2 separate regions of the Homo sapiens genome follow, and region 1 is linked to region 2. The links are contacts of gene promoters, found by promoter capture Hi-C in human tissues and cell types (Jung and others, 2019). All regions are on one chromosome and are shown on one strand. The core of a region is centred on a gene start or on the middle of the fragment in contact, and the rest is flanking DNA. Distances in the headings are between cores, read along the strand shown.

What was found. Contacts are between HindIII fragments. The study calls those that stand out against the background at their distance.
Region 1: a fragment that was not itself captured here is called in contact with the fragment with the promoter of ARFGAP3 in region 2 in 4 of the 25 tissues and cell types used here (liver, lymphoblastoid cells, pancreas and 1 more).

What each region holds. Positions count from the first base shown.
Region 1 is chr22:42,748,252-42,751,518 of GRCh38, reverse strand. No RefSeq gene overlaps it. Among named protein-coding and RNA genes, the nearest start is that of A4GALT, 29 kb to the right of the region's middle. RefSeq lists an enhancer at 2,385-2,946. The HindIII fragment of the contact is 7,860 bases long and covers 1-3,267 here.
Region 2 is chr22:42,855,798-42,859,543 of GRCh38, reverse strand. ARFGAP3 (ARF GTPase activating protein 3) reads left to right here and starts at 2,271. Exons shown (of 16, transcript NM_014570.5): 1 at 2,271-2,430. The coding sequence starts at 2,362. RefSeq lists a silencer at 1,996-2,745 and an enhancer at 2,268-3,112. The HindIII fragment of the contact is 10,713 bases long and covers 1-3,746 here.

The DNA.
Region 1 (3,267 bases), core at 241-2,740, 110 kb after region 2:
AACTGACTCTACTAAAAATACAAAAATTAGCTGGGCATGGTGTCATGCGCCTGTAATCCCAGCACTTTGGGAGGCCTAGGCGGGCAGATCACCTGAGTTCAGGAGTTCGAGACCAGCCTGGCCAACATGGTGAAACCCCGTTTCTATTAAAAGATGAAAATTAGGGCTCTTGGAGGGGAATCAAACACAGGGAGTAGCTCTCCCTCTCCCTGTCCCTGTCCCTGTCCCTCTCCCTCTCCTCATGGTCTCCCTCTCCCCATGGTCTCCCTCTCCCTCTCTTTCCACGGTCTCCCTCTCATGCCGAGCCGAAGCTGGACTATACTGCTGCCATCTCGGCTCACTGCAACCTCCCTGCCTGATTCTCCTGCCTCAGCCTGCGGAGTGCCTGCAATTGCAGGCGCGCGCCACCACGCCTGACTGGTTTTCGTATTTTTTTGGTGGAGACGGGGTTTCGCTGTGTTGGCCGGGCTGGTCTCCAGCTCCTAACCGCGAGTGATCTGCCAGCCTCGGCCTCCCGAGGTGCCGGGTTTGCAGACGGAGTCTGGTTCACTCAGTGCTCAGTGGCGCCCAGGCTGGAGTACAGTGGCGTGATCTCGGCTCGCTACAACCTCCACCTCCCAGCCGCCTGCCTTGGCCTCCCAAAGTGCCGAGATTGCAGCCTCTGCCCGGCCGCCACCCCGTCTGGGAAGTGAGGAGCGTCTCTGCCTGGCCGCCCATCGTCTGGGATGTGAGGAGCCCCTCTGCCTGGCTGCCCAGTCTGGAAAGTGAGGAGCGTCTCTGCCCAGCCGCCATCCCATCTAGGAAGTGAGGAGCGCCTCTTCCCGGCCGCCGTCACATCTAGGAAGTGAGGAGCGTCTCTGCCCGGCCGCCCCGTCTGAGAAGTGAGGAGCCCCTCCGCCCGGCAGCCGCCCCGTCCGGGAGGGAGGTGGGGGGGTCAGCCCCCCGCCCGGCCAGCCGCCCCGTCTGGGAGGTGAGGGGCGCCTCTGCCCGGCCGCCCCTGCTGGGAGGTGAGGAGCCCCTCTGCCCGGCCACCACCCCGTCTGGGAGGTGTGCCCAACAGCTCATTGAGAGCGGGCCAGGATGACAATGGCGGCTTTGTGGAATGGAGCGGGGGGAAAGGTGGGGAAAAGATTGAGGAATCGGATGGTTGCCGTGTCTGTGTAGAGGGAGGTAGACATGGGAGACTTTTCATTTTGTTCTGTACTAAGAAAAATTCTTCTGCCTTGGGATCCTGTTGATCTGTGACCTTACCCCCGACCCTGTGCTCTCTGAAACATGTGCTGTGTCCACTCAGAGTTAAATGGATTAAGGGCGGTGCAAGATGTGCTTTGTTAAACAGATGCTTGAAGGCAGCATGCTCGTTAGGAGTCATCACCACTCCCTAATCTCAAGTACCCAGGGACACAAACACTGCGGAAGGCCGCAGGGTCCTCTGCCTAGGAAAACCAGAGACCTTTGTTCACTTGTTTATCTGCTGACCTTCCCTCCACTATTGTCCTTTGACCCTGCCAAATCCCCCTCTGTGAGAAACACCCAAGAATGATCAATAAAAATAAATAAATAAATAAATAAATAAATAAAAAAGAAAATTAGCTGGGCGTGGTGTTGTGCACCTATAATCTCAGCTACTCGGGAGGGTGAGGCAGGAGAATCACTTGAACCTGGGAGGCACAGGTTGCAGTGAGCCGAGTTTGTGCCACTGCACTCCAGCCTGGGTGACAGAGTGAGACTCCATAAAAAAAAAAAAAAAAAACAACTCTGTGAGGCCCACACTGTAAGGAAGCACAGAAGTAGCAAAGGCTTTGCTGAGTATTGGGAACCTACCCTGGGCAACAAGCTCAGACCTGCCTGGGAAGGAGCTGTGCCCAGCAATGATGCAATGATGAAATGATGCTTTTTTTTTTTTTGAAAGGCATGTGCCACCATGCCTGGCTAATTTTGTATTTTTAGTAGAGACGTGGTTTCACCATGTTGGCCAGGCTGGTCTCGAACTCCTAACCTCAAGTGATCCACCTGCCTCGGCCTCCCAAAATGCTGTTATTACAGGCATGAGCCACCGCGCCCAACCAGTGATGCTTATTTTTTCTGCCAGTGGTGAGGCTGCGAACACAGGGACCATGGGAGTGGGAGCAGCCAGCCTGAGGACGGACAGTAGTGCAGGGGCACCCCCACCTGGCATGGGAGGTTAAGAGCCAGCCACCAGGCCTACATGGCTGGGGAGGGTGGATCCCTAGCTGCCAGGAGAGGGTGGTGCCACTGGGGAGGCCACAGAATGTCCTCTTCGAGTCCCTGAGCCTGCATCCTGCAGGCTGCAAAGCGCAGTTGCCTGGAGTAGCTGGTGCCGACTGGGATAATAACCAAGCGCTTCTCATTGCTGTGGGGGCATCTCTCTTTCCCATCCCAACAAAGAGGCCAGGCCTTCGGCTCGCTTGTCTCTGGGAAAGCAGACAGAGCGGGCAACCAGATCACAGCCTCCCTGGCCAGCACCCACACACCCTGGAGTGGCAGAAACTGGGGCTCCCTCAGAGGATTAGGCTGGGGCAAGCAGGAGGGCAGTGGGTTAGAGGCAGGTGCAGGCGGAGGGGAGGGATTGGCAGCCTCCCCACCTAAGCCTCGGAAGGGATGAGGCCCCTCCTAGCCTCAGATGGGAGGACCCTGGGAATGTAGCTGCAGGGGAGCCCAGGATAGCCAAACCCTGGAGATAGGGGTCCCAGGGAAACTCCTTATAAAATTTATAAAATTAATCAGGGGCTCGGTGCAATGGCTCATACCTGTCATCCCAGCACTTTGGGAGGCTGAGGCAGGCAAATCACTTGAGGTTAGGAGTTTGAGACCAGCCTGGTCAACATGGCAAAACCCTGTCTCTACTAAAAACACAAAAATTAGCTGGGTGTGGTGATGGGCGCCTGTAATTGCAGCTACTCGGGAGGCTGAGGAAGGAGAATCGCTGGAACCAAGAGGCAGAGGTTGCAGTGAGCTGAGATTGCGGCACTGCACTCCAGCCTGGGCGACAAGAGCCAGATTCCATCTCAAAAAAAAAAAAAAAAAGTAATCAGGGAAGAGGAGGGAAAAACGGAAACAAGCCAAGCTTGCAAGCTACTCAGCATGAGCTCTGAGAGCAGCCTGCTCTCTGACCAGCTGCCTCACAGCCATGCAGTGCCTGTGGCGGCCTCAGAATCACACAGACCCTGTCGCAGGATGCTAACACCCCTTAACTGCTCTGTAGACAGCCACTTGTATGTCATGAAACGTTCACTTTTGCATTTG
Region 2 (3,746 bases), core at 1,022-3,521:
CATGCCTGGCTAATTTTTGTATTTTTAGTAGAGATGGGGTTTCACCATGTTGGTCAGGCTGGTCTCGAACTCCTGACCTCATGATCCACCCACCTCAGCTTCCCAAAGTGCTGGGATTACAGGTGTGAGGCACCGCCCCCGGCCAGAAATATATATTTTTGTATTCAATTAGAGCCAGATAACATATAGATAGAATATTATATGTTATAGTATTAGATGCTAAGTTCTATGAAGAACACTTAAGCAACCATAGTGTATAAATGGTACCTCCTACCCCTTCCTCCCCTATTCGTGTAGATACTGTCTATAATTTACTGCTTTTGTTTCCCTCTCCTCAATCTCTATGGTGGAGAATGGGCTAGACTGCACTACTCTGATAATATAACTTAGTAAGATTTCAGCTCCAAGTAGTAAATGGGACCATCATTCCCATTCCCATCAGGAAGGATAAAACTGCTCATAAACATGCCCGGTATTCTGCATAAGGCCAAACTAGTACCCGGTGGACACAAAGCACAGGTGTTATACTTCGACTCAATACAGGAAGAACTTTTAAACCATCAGAGCTACCTGCAAAAGTAATGTACTTTTCTGGAAGATAATCAATTTCCCTTTCTTGGAAAAGTTGCAGCTTTGGGTTTATAAGTTACATTGTCTGCAAGCTCCCAACTGCCACCGAGGGTCTCCAAGCAGATAGGTGGAGTGTACATTTCCTGACTTCTAACAGTAGAAAGCCTCCACCAAAGGCTCTTCAGGATATCCCTAGGAAGCTGCTCACCTGTGCTACTCAGCACTGATTCTTTAATTTCTTTGTACAGATGAATAAACCATGGTTTATTTTATTTTACTTTTTGAGACAGGGTCTTGGTCTGTCGCCCATGCTGGAGTGCAGTGGTGCGATCTTGGCTCACTGCAGCCTCGACCTCCTGGACTAAAGCGATCCTCCCACCTCAGCCTCCCAAGTAGCTAGGACTACAGGCCCATGCCAGCATGCCCGGCTAATTTTTGCATTTTTTTATAGAGACGGGGTTTCACCATATTATCCAGTCTGGTCTTGAACTCCTGAGCTCAAGTGATCCTCCCGCCTCAGCCTCCCAAAGTGCTGGGATCACAGGCATGAGCCCCTGAGACTGCAAATAAACCATGCTTTAGAGAAGGTAAGTGTCTTGACCAAGGCCACAGAGCTAGGAAGCAGCTGGCTGAACTGGGATTGAGGCCAAGGTAGTGCCTTTGATGCCAAAACCTGCTGTCCTTCCTCACTATCACCCAACCTCTTTCCAGTGGCTCCACACCCATTGTGGTGACAGAGGCACCTTCTGCTGAGTGTAAACTCTTCTGGCTGGAATTGTTTCCCAGAGGGTAGGGTGCAGCCCCGAGGGCCGGGGTTAAAAGTCAAGCTTCTCATCTGGACTCATCAGTTCTGACTGAGCACTTCTGCCTCAACCCGCACTGCCATCTCTCCATGAACGTGACACAAAAGCCCTTGGTTTCAGAAAGCCAGTTTCCGGGCAAAGAAAGCTTTCCACCCAGGGCCTGGCGTGAGCTGAGGGCAAGAATTAAAAAGAGTCGGGCGCGGCGGCTCACGTCTGTAATCCCAGCAATTTGGAAGGCCGAAGTGGGTGGATCACCTGAAGTCAGGAGTTCGAGACCAGCCTGGGCAACATGGTGAAACCCTGGTCTCTACTAAAAATACAAAAATTAGCCGGGCGTGGTGATGTACGCCTGTAATCCCACCTACTCGGGAGGCTGAGGCAGGAGAATCGCTTGAACCAGGGAGGTTGCAAGGAGCCGCAATCGCGCCATTACACTCCAGCCTGGGGGACAGAGCGAGGCTCCGTCTCAAAAAAAAAAAAAAAAAAAGGGAAGGCCACCAGCTAAGGTCCGGCGTCAAGGCACGGGCCCTCCGTCCGTCTCGTGCCGAAGGAGGGCGCGTGCGCCCCTTCCCCTGCCTCTGACCTTTCCATGGAAGCAGCCCGTTAGGCGAAATGGCGATCGACCAGGCGAAACGTTGGTGGATCCTATGGCAGCGCGCGTGGCAGGCAGCCACACCCGGGCCCGGCTTCGCCCAGCGCTAAGGGCGTGGAGCCGCGCCGCAAATGGCGCGCGAGCCTCCTGCGCACGCGCGTGCAGCGCCTGGGGTCGGGCCAGCGGCGCGGCTGAAGCGAGGGCGGGGAGGGAAAGCGAGCGGCGCCTGCGCCCCGGCGGTGGACGGGCCCGGTCGTGGGCGGGGATTGGGGCGGAGCCTGACCGTTACGCGCAGCCCCGCCCCCGCGGCCTCGTCGCTCCTGCTGAGGCGGTAGCCGCTTTTCGTCGACTCTTACCGGTTGGCTGGGCCAGCTGCGCCGCGGCTCACAGCTGACGATGGGGGACCCCAGCAAGCAGGACATCTTGACCATCTTCAAGCGCCTCCGCTCGGTGCCCACTAACAAGGTAGCGGCCGCGGGCGAGTGCGGGCCTGCCTGGCATCCCTGCGGGAACCGGCGGGAGGCCCCGCGGGCGCCAGTGCCCGTGGCTTGGGAGGCGGGGCCGGCGCGGCCTGTGACACGTCGCACTGTGGGGCCGCGGCAGCCTGGCCGGGCCGGGGCGGGCGGGGCCGGGCAGCTGAGAGGCCCGGGCGGGAGGCCGCAGCGCGGGGGTCCTCACGCGAGCCGGGGAGCGTTCCCGGGGGCGGCGGCGCGGGCACACCCCCCGGCGAGCTCTTGGGGCGGGGGGCGAGCACCGGCGGCTCTGAGCGGAGGCGGGGGCGGGGGCATCCTCGGGGGCGCTGCGAGGAGGGAGCTCCCGGCTCGGAAACCCCGGCTGCTGGCGCCGGATGCGGGGAAAGCGCGGCTCCCCCAGCGCCACCCTGGAGCTCGACCCCGCCTGTTGGAGCCGGCTTGGCTCCTCGGGCCTTGCGGTGCCTGCCTCAGTTTCTCTTCTGATAAAGTTGCCGAGTAGTCTACGCTTTGGCTTCCAGCTTTTGTCGCTTTGGCCAGGGAGGCTCACCACAGCCTCCTCCCTCTCCTCGGTTCTCTTTGGAGATGGAGGTTTCCTTTTTTTTTTTGTCTCCAGAGGCTGTTCTCTCCCTGGAACTTTTACAGCTTTGCGCAGCTGGCTGGAGGCGTTGGGGTGACGCAGGGGGCTAAGGTGACACGTCGGGTCGGAGAGGGACTTGGAGAGTGCAAAGGGCTGTCGCGTCAGCGTGGGCTCTCCCCGCCCCTCCTGTGACACGAGTGTTGTCTGGTTCCCACTGTCACTTCCCGAAGGGAACAGCTGTTATTGAACCTCGATATGCTGGCATAGAAAGTTCCCGAGTGTTACAAAATAGGTGTTTCTGTTGGTTTTAAGTCTTGATGGTACAGGGGAGCCCATATTTTTTCCAGCCTAGGTGAGGAAGGAAACAGTTTATTGGAGGTGATGTCTGATGGATGTGGGAAAGTTAAGAGAAAGGCTCCAGGAATTCTCCAGTGCCCGTTTCTTTACTGTTCTCTTGATTTTCACATTTTTATTTATTTATTTTTTTAGAGACAGGGTCTCACCCCGTCACCCAGGCTGAAGTGTAGTGCCTTGATCCTAGCTCACTGCAGCCTTGACCTACCCAGCCCAAGCCATCCTTCCTTCCCAGCCTCCTGATGAGGCTGACACCACAGGGCTGTACCACCACGCCCAGCTAATTGTTATTATTAATTAATTAATTAATTAATTTTTGTAGAGACAGGGTCTTGCTATGTTGCCCGTGCTGGTGTCAAATTCCTGGGCTCAAGCAG